Linked DNA regions of Homo sapiens: region 1 is linked to region 2. Evidence: promoter capture Hi-C in 16 types of primary human blood cells and fetal thymus (Javierre and others, 2016). All regions are on one chromosome and are shown on one strand. Each heading gives the region's core, a stretch centred on a gene start or on the middle of the fragment in contact. The rest is flanking DNA. Distances are from core to core; before and after follow the strand shown. Region 1 overlaps TRIM3 (tripartite motif containing 3). Region 2 holds the start of TAF10 (TATA-box binding protein associated factor 10).

What was found. The method cuts DNA at HindIII sites, captures the fragments that hold promoters and counts their contacts. A CHiCAGO score of 5 or more calls a contact.
Region 1: a contact is called between a fragment that was not itself captured here and the fragment with the promoter of TAF10 in region 2, in 1 of 17 cell types (non-activated CD4 T cells). The highest score is 5.8, in non-activated CD4 T cells.

Annotation. Positions count from the first base shown.
Region 1 is chr11:6,450,010-6,457,222 of GRCh38, forward strand. TRIM3 (tripartite motif containing 3) reads right to left here. Exons shown (of 12, transcript NM_033278.4): 6 at 6,288-7,020; 7 at 6,063-6,166; 8 at 1,262-1,429; 9 at 883-1,051; 10 at 542-612. Among named protein-coding and RNA genes, the nearest start is that of HPX, 13 kb to the left of the region's middle. The HindIII fragment of the contact is 1,344 bases long and covers 2,317-3,660 here.
Region 2 is chr11:6,610,795-6,614,568 of GRCh38, forward strand. It overlaps TAF10 (TATA-box binding protein associated factor 10), which reads right to left and starts at 1,422. Exons shown (of 5, transcript NM_006284.4): 1 at 1,164-1,422; 2 at 870-1,024; 3 at 594-658; 4 at 395-509; 5 at 1-217. The coding sequence starts at 1,395. The coding sequence ends at 128. It overlaps TPP1 (tripeptidyl peptidase 1), which reads right to left. Exons shown (of 13, transcript NM_000391.4): 13 at 1,974-3,774. The coding sequence ends at 3,752. It overlaps ILK (integrin linked kinase), which reads left to right. Exons shown (of 13, transcript NM_004517.4): 13 at 1-76. RefSeq lists enhancers at 37-625, 626-1,213, 1,669-1,798, 1,849-1,898 and silencers at 1,069-1,268, 1,279-1,378. The HindIII fragment of the contact is 6,165 bases long and covers 1-2,313 here.

The sequences.
Region 1 (7,213 bases), core at 1,739-4,238, 160 kb before region 2:
CTTAAGGGGGCACACAAGCCTCACTCTCAGCTTTCACGGTCCCCTCCTCAAGCTGAGTCTGAACTACTTGTGATTTCTCGAACACACTATTAAGGTTCCCACCTTGCATTCTTGGCTCTTCCTGTGTCTTTTGTCTCAAACACTCTCGTCCTCCTCTGCCTTCCATTTAATTCCCACTTGTGCTTGAGGTCCTCCTCATATAGTCTTTCCTGAATCATACACTTCTGTATCCCTTCCCACAGTTCCCTGCACCTTCCTATCACAGAATCTATTACATCATATTGTAATTTTTTGGTTACCTTTTTCTCTTCCCTACTAGACTATAATCAAGAAGACACAGAATACATTTGCTTTGTGCATCACTGTATCTCCAGCTTCTAGCATACTGCCTGGGACAAAGCAGCCATGCATAAATGTGTAAATGTGTATTGTTTGAGTGAATGATCTCAAAGGGGAAAAGGAGGAGGTAAAATAGAGAGGAGTCTTGTGGAAGAGGAAAGGATGTTGGGACAGTGGTCACGGAGGGAGGGAAGACACTGACCTTCACTGAATGGTTATGGAAGTCCGTTACTACAATTTCATTCTTGTTGTTCACAGCCACAAAATGGGGCCCTGAAAATACAAAGTGGTCTTCAGGGCAGTAAGCTGGGATGCTGAGTGGGATGGGGAAGAGTATCTGGGAAGATAAAAGCTAGGGTGTTAGGAGAGGGGTGGGGTCTCCAGGACTGAGACAAATTATTTCTGAGATGATAGGGCTAACGTAAGGGAAGTGGGATCTCCAGAGCCAAGATATAGGAGGAGAGGGCCTTTACAGCTGGGGTATCTAGGGGAGTTCTCTGGAACAGGGGTATCAGCATAGATCTTGGAGCTGTCCCCCTATACCTGCAAAGTGGCGGTCAGTGGCCCCACGGCCCCCAAAACGGCCAACCAGTTTGCCATTGGGCTGGAAGGTAAAGACGCAGCAAGACTTGTTGTCGACCACAATGATATGTCCATTCCGGTCTACGGCCACTCCCTTGGGGCCCATGAGGCGGCCAGCTCCAATCTTGGTCTGGAGGAAGAGAATATCCATAAGAGGCTTTATTCTGACAGTGGGGAAAGTAGTCCTAACCCAGTACCAAAGCAGAATCTTGGGCTGGGGAAAGAACAGGGAGTAGGAGGAGGTAGGATTGGATCAGTCCAGACCCTGACCACCAAGAGGCACTAGACTGGTCAGTTCAGCTGGACACCAGGGTAAGTAAAGTGACAGCAGGCCTCTCACCTTGAACTTGCCCTCAGGGGAGAAGATGCTGACCCAACGGTTGTCATAGTCTGCCACAATTATGTCTCCATTGGTGTCCACTGCCACACCTGTGGGGCGCTGCAGCTGCCCAGGTGAGCGTCCTCGGACCCCAAAACGGAACTTGAACTGGCCCTCATTGGAGAAAACCTGGAGCAGAGGAGCAAGGGGAGGGAGCAGGTAGGAGGGGAGACACTGTGGGCACAGACAGAAGGGAGTAGGATCCTGAGGGAGGAGACCCCCCCACCACCATTTATTCAGTCATTCAACAAGCACTTACTGACAAAATCAAACATGGCAGCAGGTCTGGGGCAATGCAACAGAGATATGAATGGGATTGTGAGAACATGAAGGGATGAAGGGGAATGGTGAGAAAAGGCTCCAAGAGAAGAAGATGTCTGAACAAATAGCCTAATGAGGATGCCACATAAACCAAATTCGGCCAGGAAAGGAAGAGGAAAGGCATTCAAGCAGAGTGAACAGATTGTAAAAGGCACAAAGTCCAGTATGGGCACCACTTGAGGACTTGTCCAGTGTGGCTGGACTGCAGGGAGCACCCAGGTGAACAAAAGAAGGAATTATGTTTTATCCTGGGTGTAATGAGGAGTTTCTTAACATTTCTAGGCATAGCAGTGACAAGATCAATTTTGCTTTTAAGAAAGAACATTCTGGCTGTAGGGAGAAGTCAAGACTACAAGCTAGCTGCCCAGTCAGAGGCTGTTGCAGTATTCCAGTTGAGAAATGATGATGGCTTGGACCAAGGAAATTGGCTGGAGGGACGCAGATGGACTCAAGACATATGTAGGAGGTAGGCTCATGAGACTTAGTAGCAGACTGGAATGGGGTAGGTGAGAGAGGAGAAAGTATACAAGAATTAGTCCATTCAGGCTATGGGGCTGACAAGGAAACCTTCCTCCTACACAGAGTGAACCTTTCAACCTCTCCCTTCTCCAACCTCCTCTAATTTAGCTGCCCAATATGCTCAGGTCTCCCCATCCCAAAAGCACCTCCTTTAATCCTCCTTCCCACTTTAGCTAAGCTTTCTGGCTTTTCCTTCATAGTCAAAACATTACTCACTACATAAGTCTCATACACTCTGCTTTGTTATAGGCTCTGGGGACACAAGATGAACGAGAGCCAGGAGCAGCCTTGGAGAACTCAAGTTCTGGGCATTGGCCTTGCTCTTGGATTCAAATCTGTGCCTTCCTTAATGGACTGGTCTCCCCGCCCCGGCCCCACCCCAACTCCATCTCTTAGTCCTGCAGGGCTGTTTAAACTGGTCCCACCAACAGGCATCACTTTCTTCTAATGTGGACCTTCTACTAAGCTCTTCTCTGGCTGACCAGCACAGCTCTTGGGTTCTGCAGTGGTCCCCTGTGGCAGGACAGCACTCATCAGTATGAGAAGGGAGATACCATGAGCTCCACGAGCTAAATAGTAGAAGTGAGGGGGCACTAAAAGGTACAGTTTAGCGGTGAGGTAATGCCCCTCCAGTTTGAGCAGCTCAGGTTCTGGCTCAATACTGATGAGGCTTTGGGATGTCTTGTTCTTCCAGTCCCAGCCTATCCCACCCCTGACACCTGGCCAACTCTTACTCATCTTTCCATTCTTAGAATTTCCAGGTCACTTTTTCAGAGAAGACTAATGACCAAGTACCACCCTCCGCCCTACCAAATCAATATGCACATATAAACTTAGGTCACCAGGATATATGCTTTACAGCTCTCTTCATAACAATTATCACTTTGCAGCTAAATAACTGTTAAATATCGGTGTCCCCTTCTAAGGATGTAAGCCTCGCATGGCATAAGGACTGCATCTGTTTTGTTTGCTGCTGCACTTGCAGCACTGATATGGCATTTGGCACATAGTAGGCATTCAACAAATGAATGAACTCCCCAGCTCAATCTCAGACCTGAACTGGACATCTCCACTTGAATGCCGCATAGCTATCTCAAACATCTGCAAAAGTGAATTCATCAACTTAAACCTGGGCCTGCTCCTGAATGGCAACACCATCTACCCAGTCCACAAAGTCCTGCCATTCTTGACATTTGACGATTTAGCAAAATCTGCCATTCTTGCTTCCTTAATATCTCTAGAATCTGCTGGTGTCCTAGTTTGGTCCTTAACATCTCTCTCCTATACCATGGTATCTGAAAGTAGATCCCTGACTTCAGGGATCTCACAGTCTAGTGGGGGAGAAAGACTTAAACCAAAATAAAACAAAACAAAACCAGACAAAAACAAAAACAAACCAGTGATTCCAGTAAAGTATGAAAAGTACTATAGCAAAAGGCTGAGGGAACTGAGAAGAATGTGATTTAACATTCTGCCTAAGGGAATGAGGGAGTTTTCACAGAAGAGCTGATAAAACTGGAAGCTTAGACAATTACACAAGGACATAATATATACAAATCAAATTATTAATTCAGAATCACAAAATGTTTTTTGTCTTCTGTCAACTGATGCTGGTTCCACTCAGTGAGGTCTGCCTCATCCTCCACCATAGAAGTGTCCAAAAGAGAAAACGGTCATGTCGTGAGGACCCCAATCCCCATGTACTGAGAGGAGGAGGGGGATCAGACCTCATCAGGGAGCCCAGCCCATGCCAGCCCTAAGGACTCCAGAGTAAGAGAAGCAGAAATTCAACTTAGAAATCTGAGCCAGGCTCCTAGCAGTGGCGACATAGAGGGCAGGTGGAAGTAGAAGCAAGAGGAGGACTGCTATAGAAGTAGCAGGTGTTTGGAAGAGAGTGGAGCTATACCAGGTGTTCCCTCTCAATTCCCCACTCTGAAACAATGGGGAGGCCAGGTGCAGTGGCTCATGCCTGTAATCCCAGCACTTTCAGAGGCCAAGGCAGGAGGATAGCTTGAGCCTAGGAGTTCCAGACCAGCCCAAACAATATAGTGAAACCCCGTCTTTACTAAAAATAAAAATAAAATAAAATAAATTAGCCAGGTATAGTGGCATGCGCCTGTAGTCCCAGCTACTCGGGAGGCTGAAGTAGGAGGATTGCTTGAGCACAGGAGGTCAAGGCTGCAGTGAGCTGTGATCATAGCACTGTACTCCAGCCTGGACAACAGAGACCCTGTCTCAAAAAAAAAAAAAAAAACTATGAGGAAGTTCAGCCCCCTCACCAGGACAGACAAAGTGGCACTTGTTTTTCTGTGCATGTGAGCAGTGAGCACACCTGTGTGTGTGCACAACAGAGAAGGGGTCCCAAATCTCAACTTTTATGCCAGGAAGCATTCCCAGCCTAGGGAGTTGGAAAGGAGCTGGAAGGTGTAACTGAGTAGGGAACTGAGCACCACCTCATTACTCCCCCGCAATCCCCTCCTCACTATCCAGGCTGGGCCCAAATGCCTTCCTGTGCTGCACAGGGCCTCTCCATTCCTCTGCTCTTAGAAATAGGGTAGGAGTAAAGGACGACTGGACAGAACTGGGAATATGGCCACAGAAGAGTCCCTTGCACTTTTAGACTGTTAGGTGAAAAGCAGGGGTCAGAGAGTAGCCGTCACTGAGGGAAAGGACCTTAGCAGAGCTGGATCGATGACATGAGTACTCAAGCAGGGTCAGGAAGTTTAAACGTATAGGTGTTTAGAAGTAAGGATCTTCAGCGAAAAGTTTTGCTACCCAGTAAAATGTTTCGAAGAAGTAAAGTGCATGGTAGTTAGAAACAATCCCCTATAGGATAAAATCAAAATTCCACACTCCATCTCCAAAACCAATTACAATCTGACCTCAGCTACCCCTGGCTTCTAATAGTAATCTACCTCCAGGCCTGCTGGGCTCCTTCCAGTTCCCTGAACCACCTCCTCCAGCACTTTCCCACCTGCTTGCCTTTGTTTACAGCCTCCACCTGGACGATGATATTTTTAACAATAGCTAACATCAGAAGTTTCACTAGATGTCAAGTATAGTACATCATTTAACACTCCCCGCAACCCTATCAGATATACTTTTCCTAATTTTACACATGAGTTAACTGAAGCTCAAAGAGGTCATGTGACTTGTTAGTATGTGACAGAGCTAGGATTCAAGCTCAGGTGTCTGGTTTCAGAGCCTGAGCTTTTAACTGCTCTGCTGTGTCAACTACCCTGGTGCCCACTGTACTAGGCTCTGAGCTTTTACTACAAGAAACAGAGGGAAAAAAAGGCACATTTCCTGGCTTTGAAAAGGAGCTCACAGTGCAGCAGAAACCATGTTCATTCAGTGCGGTTGATGCCATAATCAGGTGTATGAGGTTATGGGAGAGGCAGTGGGAGGACCACCTGCTACAACTTCTAGCCACTGAAAGATACCCCCTTTGGCCAAGATACCCCTATGCAACTGTCTAGCCAACCTGATAACTGCAGAGACTCCAGACAGACTACATACATTCAGGAGCCAGGCATGCATGTTGGAAGACACGGAGGGCAGGCCACCAGGAGAAAAAGGGAGAAAGTAAGAGGCTCAAGGAGAGGCAGAAGGAAAGGAGGAATGAGCCAGATCTTTGCAGTCCAGGAGCTGACCTGCCCTAAGCCATGGCCTACAAAGTAGAGGCTACAAGCATAGTAAACTCTGGTTTCTGACTGAAGGTGCTGGTTACAGTTGTGGCCTATGGGAATGGGGTGGCTGGTGGGTGCGTAAGGGGTGATCCTTTGATTCACTGCTCTTAAGGAACGGTACTATCTGTAGGGTTCCATCTTCCAGGAGGTGACCTGTACATTCTATCTTTTCAGTAGCCTGTAGCTTGAAAACTCTTATTTTGGTGGTGGAGGAGAGCGGTAAAGGTGCTTACCTGAATACACTGGTTGTTGCTGTCTGCTACCACGATGCGGCCGCTGCTGGCTGCGGACACACCTTGTAAATTGGTGAATTCACCTTTCTCCCTTCCACGACTGCCTGTGGGAAGGGACAGGAGGGAAAACAAAATAATTCATTCAGAGGTCATCTTGAACCTCCCTTCCCTCCCCACCCACTACCTGAGCCTGGCCCATCTGGCTCTGCCCTCGGCTGTCTGTACCAACACGGAAGACGAGCTCATCCTCAATTGGGTTGTCCTTTCGTTTGCCGCCTGTGCTGTACATGGAGCTGGGCCTACGCACTGCCTTCTGGCGCACATGGCTGCCGGGGCCGCCAGGGGACTTGACACGGCGCTTCACATCGTCCGGGGAAGGTGGCAGGTCCCCCGGACGCAGGGCACGCACGCGGAAGGGGCTGCCGCGCACTGGCTGTCCGTAGAGCAGCACCGAGAGGAGCAGCTCGCCTTCCGTGCGCGCTGTGTACACTAGCTCATATGTGCCATTCTTGTGGTCCACCACTGGCACCGGAAGGCGCGTGCCGTCCGGGCCGGTGATCTCTGCACGCAGCTCAGCGCTGCCTGTGCGCACCAACCGCCCGTCCTTGTCTTTGGTAGTGACAGTGAGCGAGGCAGGCTGGCCCACTAGCGCCTGGCGCAGGCCCTCTCCCGTGGCCACCGTTTCGTGTGCAGTGGCGCTCGTGGTGAGCAGTGCGCCCAGATTGAGCACCGATCGCCGCAGACCGTCCACCTCAAGGACCAGTTCCAGCTGTGCATTCTCATGTGGCCGCTCCGGGAAGGCCTGTGCCGCCAATGCAGCCAGCCGCTCTCGCATGTGCTTGCGCACCAGCAACACCTCCGGGGCCGAGCCCAGGCGCAGTGCCTGCTCTGCAAAGCTGCAGCTACTGCCGATGTGTTCCTGACCCTGGCGCAGTGTGTCCAGCTGGCTTTGCAACACCTGATGAGGGGTAGGGGAGGAGTGGGTGAGCAGACTGGCACAGGGGGAGTCTCTGTGATTACTGAAGTTGTAGCACTGTGGCATAAAATACAAGAGGGTGCCTGTGGACAGAGGACACAGATGCCCACAGCACCTACCGAGGGCATGTCAGGAGGCAGAATATCTAGGCTGGGGAATGGGGAGCTGGTGTGGA
Region 2 (3,774 bases), core at 172-2,671:
TTGTCACTTGCCACATGGTGTCTCCCAACATGGGAGGGATCAGCCCCGCCTGTCACAATAAAGTTTATTATGAAAACAGGCTGGTGTGGGGACATGGGGACAGATAAGTACATTTAGGTTGGGTGGCTCAGGTGAAGTAGTGCGGCTTCTTCACATTGATGCCATACTCGCTGAGGGCAGGGGTCAAGTCCTCCATGGTTAGAGTGTACTTGCGGTCCTGAGGGAAGAGGGAAGAGCACCAACTGAGCACAGGAATCCCGGACTTCAATCCCAGATGGGTGACCCTGAGTAAGTCTTACACCTCCCCTACGATTCAGTTTCCCCAAAGGGGTGGCAGGATAAGCCTCCACTGTTGTGGAAGGTAATTACTGATTCATTAAGCCTCCCCTCACACCTTGCTCTTGCTCCGGGAGCTGCCGGAGGCCGTGCCCTTCATTTTGCAGTGCTGTAGGGCATCATTGGCAATATCTGAGATGAATTTCTGGGCAGCTAAGGAGATGAGCCGAATTCTAGAGAGAAAAAACTTAGATGAGAAGGAGATGGACAACATACTGCACAAGCACCCAAAACTAACCTGCCCTGGGTTTACTCACATGCGTGGGTCTGAGGCCTCAAAGCCAGCACGGTTCAGGTAGTAACCAGTCACTGCATCTGGGATCTGAGAAATCAATTAAGAGAACTGTCAGCAGAGCGGGAGGAGGGTGAGGGAAATGGATAGGCCTGATTATCAGGAAGCTCACAGTTTGGGTGAGCAGAGGGCAAACACAGAAGAGCGACTAGGGGAGCAAATGGAAGAGAACGCTGAAAAGCACGATGTGGCTGAAAGTTTTGACAGCAGGCTAGGTGGCCTTGTTCGGGCGGAAGCCCACCGTAGGCGTGTAATCTTCCAGCTGCATCAAGAAGTCCACCAAAGGCGTGCTGGACACCACGGGCTTCACGTCTCCGTTGGCCGCGCTCGGCAGTACGTAAACCCCGTTAGATATGGCCCCCTCCGGGGGCGCCGCGCCACCCGCCGACACCGGAGCTGGAGGAGAACCAGCAAAATGAGACACAGAGGTGGGAGGCGCAGGGCCCCAGCTAGGTCTGTCTATACCCTCTGCCCTCACCCGCCGCTGGACCCAGCCCAAGACGCTTCCCTCGCCCTCACCCGTCCCGGCCCTCACCCGCCCCACGCCGCTCAGCTGGCTCCCCGGCCCGCGCCGCCAAGGGTCCCGTGCCCCCAGCAGCTGCTCCAGCCCCAGGTCCCCCCGCTGTCCCCGCGGGGCTGGCCTTGTTCTCCGCGGCGGTGCTGGAGGGCAGCGCGGCGGGAGCCGAGACCGGGGGCGCGGGGCCCGGGGCCGAGGCGGCGGAGGCCGGCGCCGCCTCGGGGTCCGCGCCGGAGCCGCTGCAGCTCATCGGGCCGGTGGGAGAGGCGGCGAACAGAGCCGCTTCCGCTTCCGCTCGCGCCGCGCACACCCCGGGGTGACGTCACGCGCCCACGACTCGCCCCGCCTGTCTCTGTTAGTGCTCTCCAGCCCGCTCCCCGCCTCCTCCCATAGTGGATCTGCGGGTTAGAGGAAATAGGCTGCAGGGCGGAGACCGAGCCTTGGCGAACTGCGCTGCCGTAGCCATTCCGCCCTAGCCTCTGCCGTGCTCCGCGGCGATTCCGTCCAGACCGGAACCAGCGTGCGTCTGGCTCTCCTCCGCCGCTCTGGGACACCTCATTCTGTCTGACGCTCAAGACCTGGCTTCGACGTTTATGGCCCTATGTCCCTCGACTACGGGTTGCCTGCCTGTCTGCATCGTTTCAAGTTCCCTTATTCAGCCTTTTAAGGATTCATAGTGGATTTGGAAAGCCCCCTCTCTTCTCCGCCAGCTGCCCCGAGAGGTGGGGGCAGCAGTGGGGCGGCACACAGTGCTGCTGTAGGAGGAGGAGGAGTTTCAGCCTGAGTCAACAACATATGCAAAAATCACAACGAATGAGAGGCGTGAGGTTTTCGGTGTAGCAGACATTTAATTCTTATTTGCCAACTCCTGAGCTAGGACCTGGGAACACAAAGTTAAATAGGACACGATTCTAGTCCTCTAGGCACCAACGGTCTTGGAAAGGAAGGCAGACAAGTAAACTGGCCATTTCAATACTACGTGGTCGTTACAATGCTAGAGGTAGGCACAGGGGGCGCAGTGCAAGGGAGGAAGGGCGTTAACATCTGCCACCTACTTCCAGGTGCCAAGCACTGTTATCAACATTATTCCACTTTATTCCCTGGTGATTATGAAAGGCAGGTATTGATATTCACACTTAACAGACGAGGAAACAGCCTCAGGGAGATAAGCTTACTTGACCCAGTCTCTCTCCTAGTCCATATCAGAACCAAGATTCAAACAGGTTTTGTTTAGAAAATCTAGGATTTTTCAGCCATACCAAAATAAAGTAGCCTCAGGGAATCAAAACATTCACGAAAGAAGGTGACTTCTGAACTGAGTCTTGCAAGAATTCTGGAAATTAACCTGGCAGTTGTATCAGGGGTGGTAAGGGGACGGAACAGCTTGAGCAAGAGTGAGAGTTCCTTGGGGTTTGGGGAGGGAGGAGGAAAAATGATTTTTTACTTAAGAACAAATAGCAAGGAAGGTTTGTGAGCTATGATTGGGGGCTGGAGGGGAAAGCCTGAATTCTATCCAGTAATCCTTGAAGGGTTTTCATCCAAGTGGCCTGATGGGATTTGCATTTTACTCTGGAAGATGACTTGGGGATTGGCAGGAAGTAAGGACACTTTTTTTCAAGAGAATATAGCCCTAAACTAAGGTAGTAGCAGTGGGGATATAAGTGGATAAGTTCTAGATATACTTGGGAAATATAATTGGAAGGACTTGTGGACTGATAAAGATATATTTAAGATGTGCAGTCAGTAGGACTTGTTGATTGAGGACTTGTTGATTGAAGGTGGGGTGAAAAGATGACACAGGTTTCTGGCTTGGTTGGAAAAAGCATAGCATCATTTACCAAGAAGAAACGAGATGGAATTGTTTGGGGTTGGGAAGGTGGACGATGAAATGTTGAGTATCACGCATCTTACATTTGAGGTATCAATCATTATTGGATAGAAAGTCTTATTTAGTGAGATGGTAATGGTTGTAGATGTCAGTGATTTGTTCCAGGGGACAATGAGTAAACTGAGAAGAGCAAAAATCTACAAATGGAGCAATGAAGGTCAGCATTCCATGAAGAAGCAGAAATTGATGAGAGAGGAAGACAAGAGTAGTCAGAGAAGTTAAGACCTGGAAGCTAAGTAAGGAGAGGGAGTGGGCAACTATGATGGAAAGGCCATAAAGCAAAGATTGAGAAGTATGCACTGGAGGCCATTGTTTCTGGATGTCAGGGTAGGAAAGAGTAAACGGTGACAGTAGAGGTCTCCTTGCAGTGAATTGGGGAATGAATATCAAGTGAAATAGTGCACAGAGTCTGTATACAACCCTTTGGAAAAGCCTGATTGAAAAGAGAAAGATGAGATGCGGAGGGAGAGGCATTCAAAAAATGCTAGTTACAGCATCTTATTGAGGAATCTAAGGCAGGAGTAGGGAGACCTGAGTATGATGGAGCATGGTAGGGTTGGGAGTCAAGTCAAGCTCACAGCATTTCAGGGTTAGGGAGATAAGCTGTCTGCAGCAGTCAATAGTTGAGGGTTCAGCAGGGCTTCCAACAGGGCAGAATAAGGGACTGAACTGCCAGCTTCAGGGCAGGGGACAAGCCATCTCTCCTGATAGGAAAGGGTCAGGGGTTGAGTAGAGTCTTCA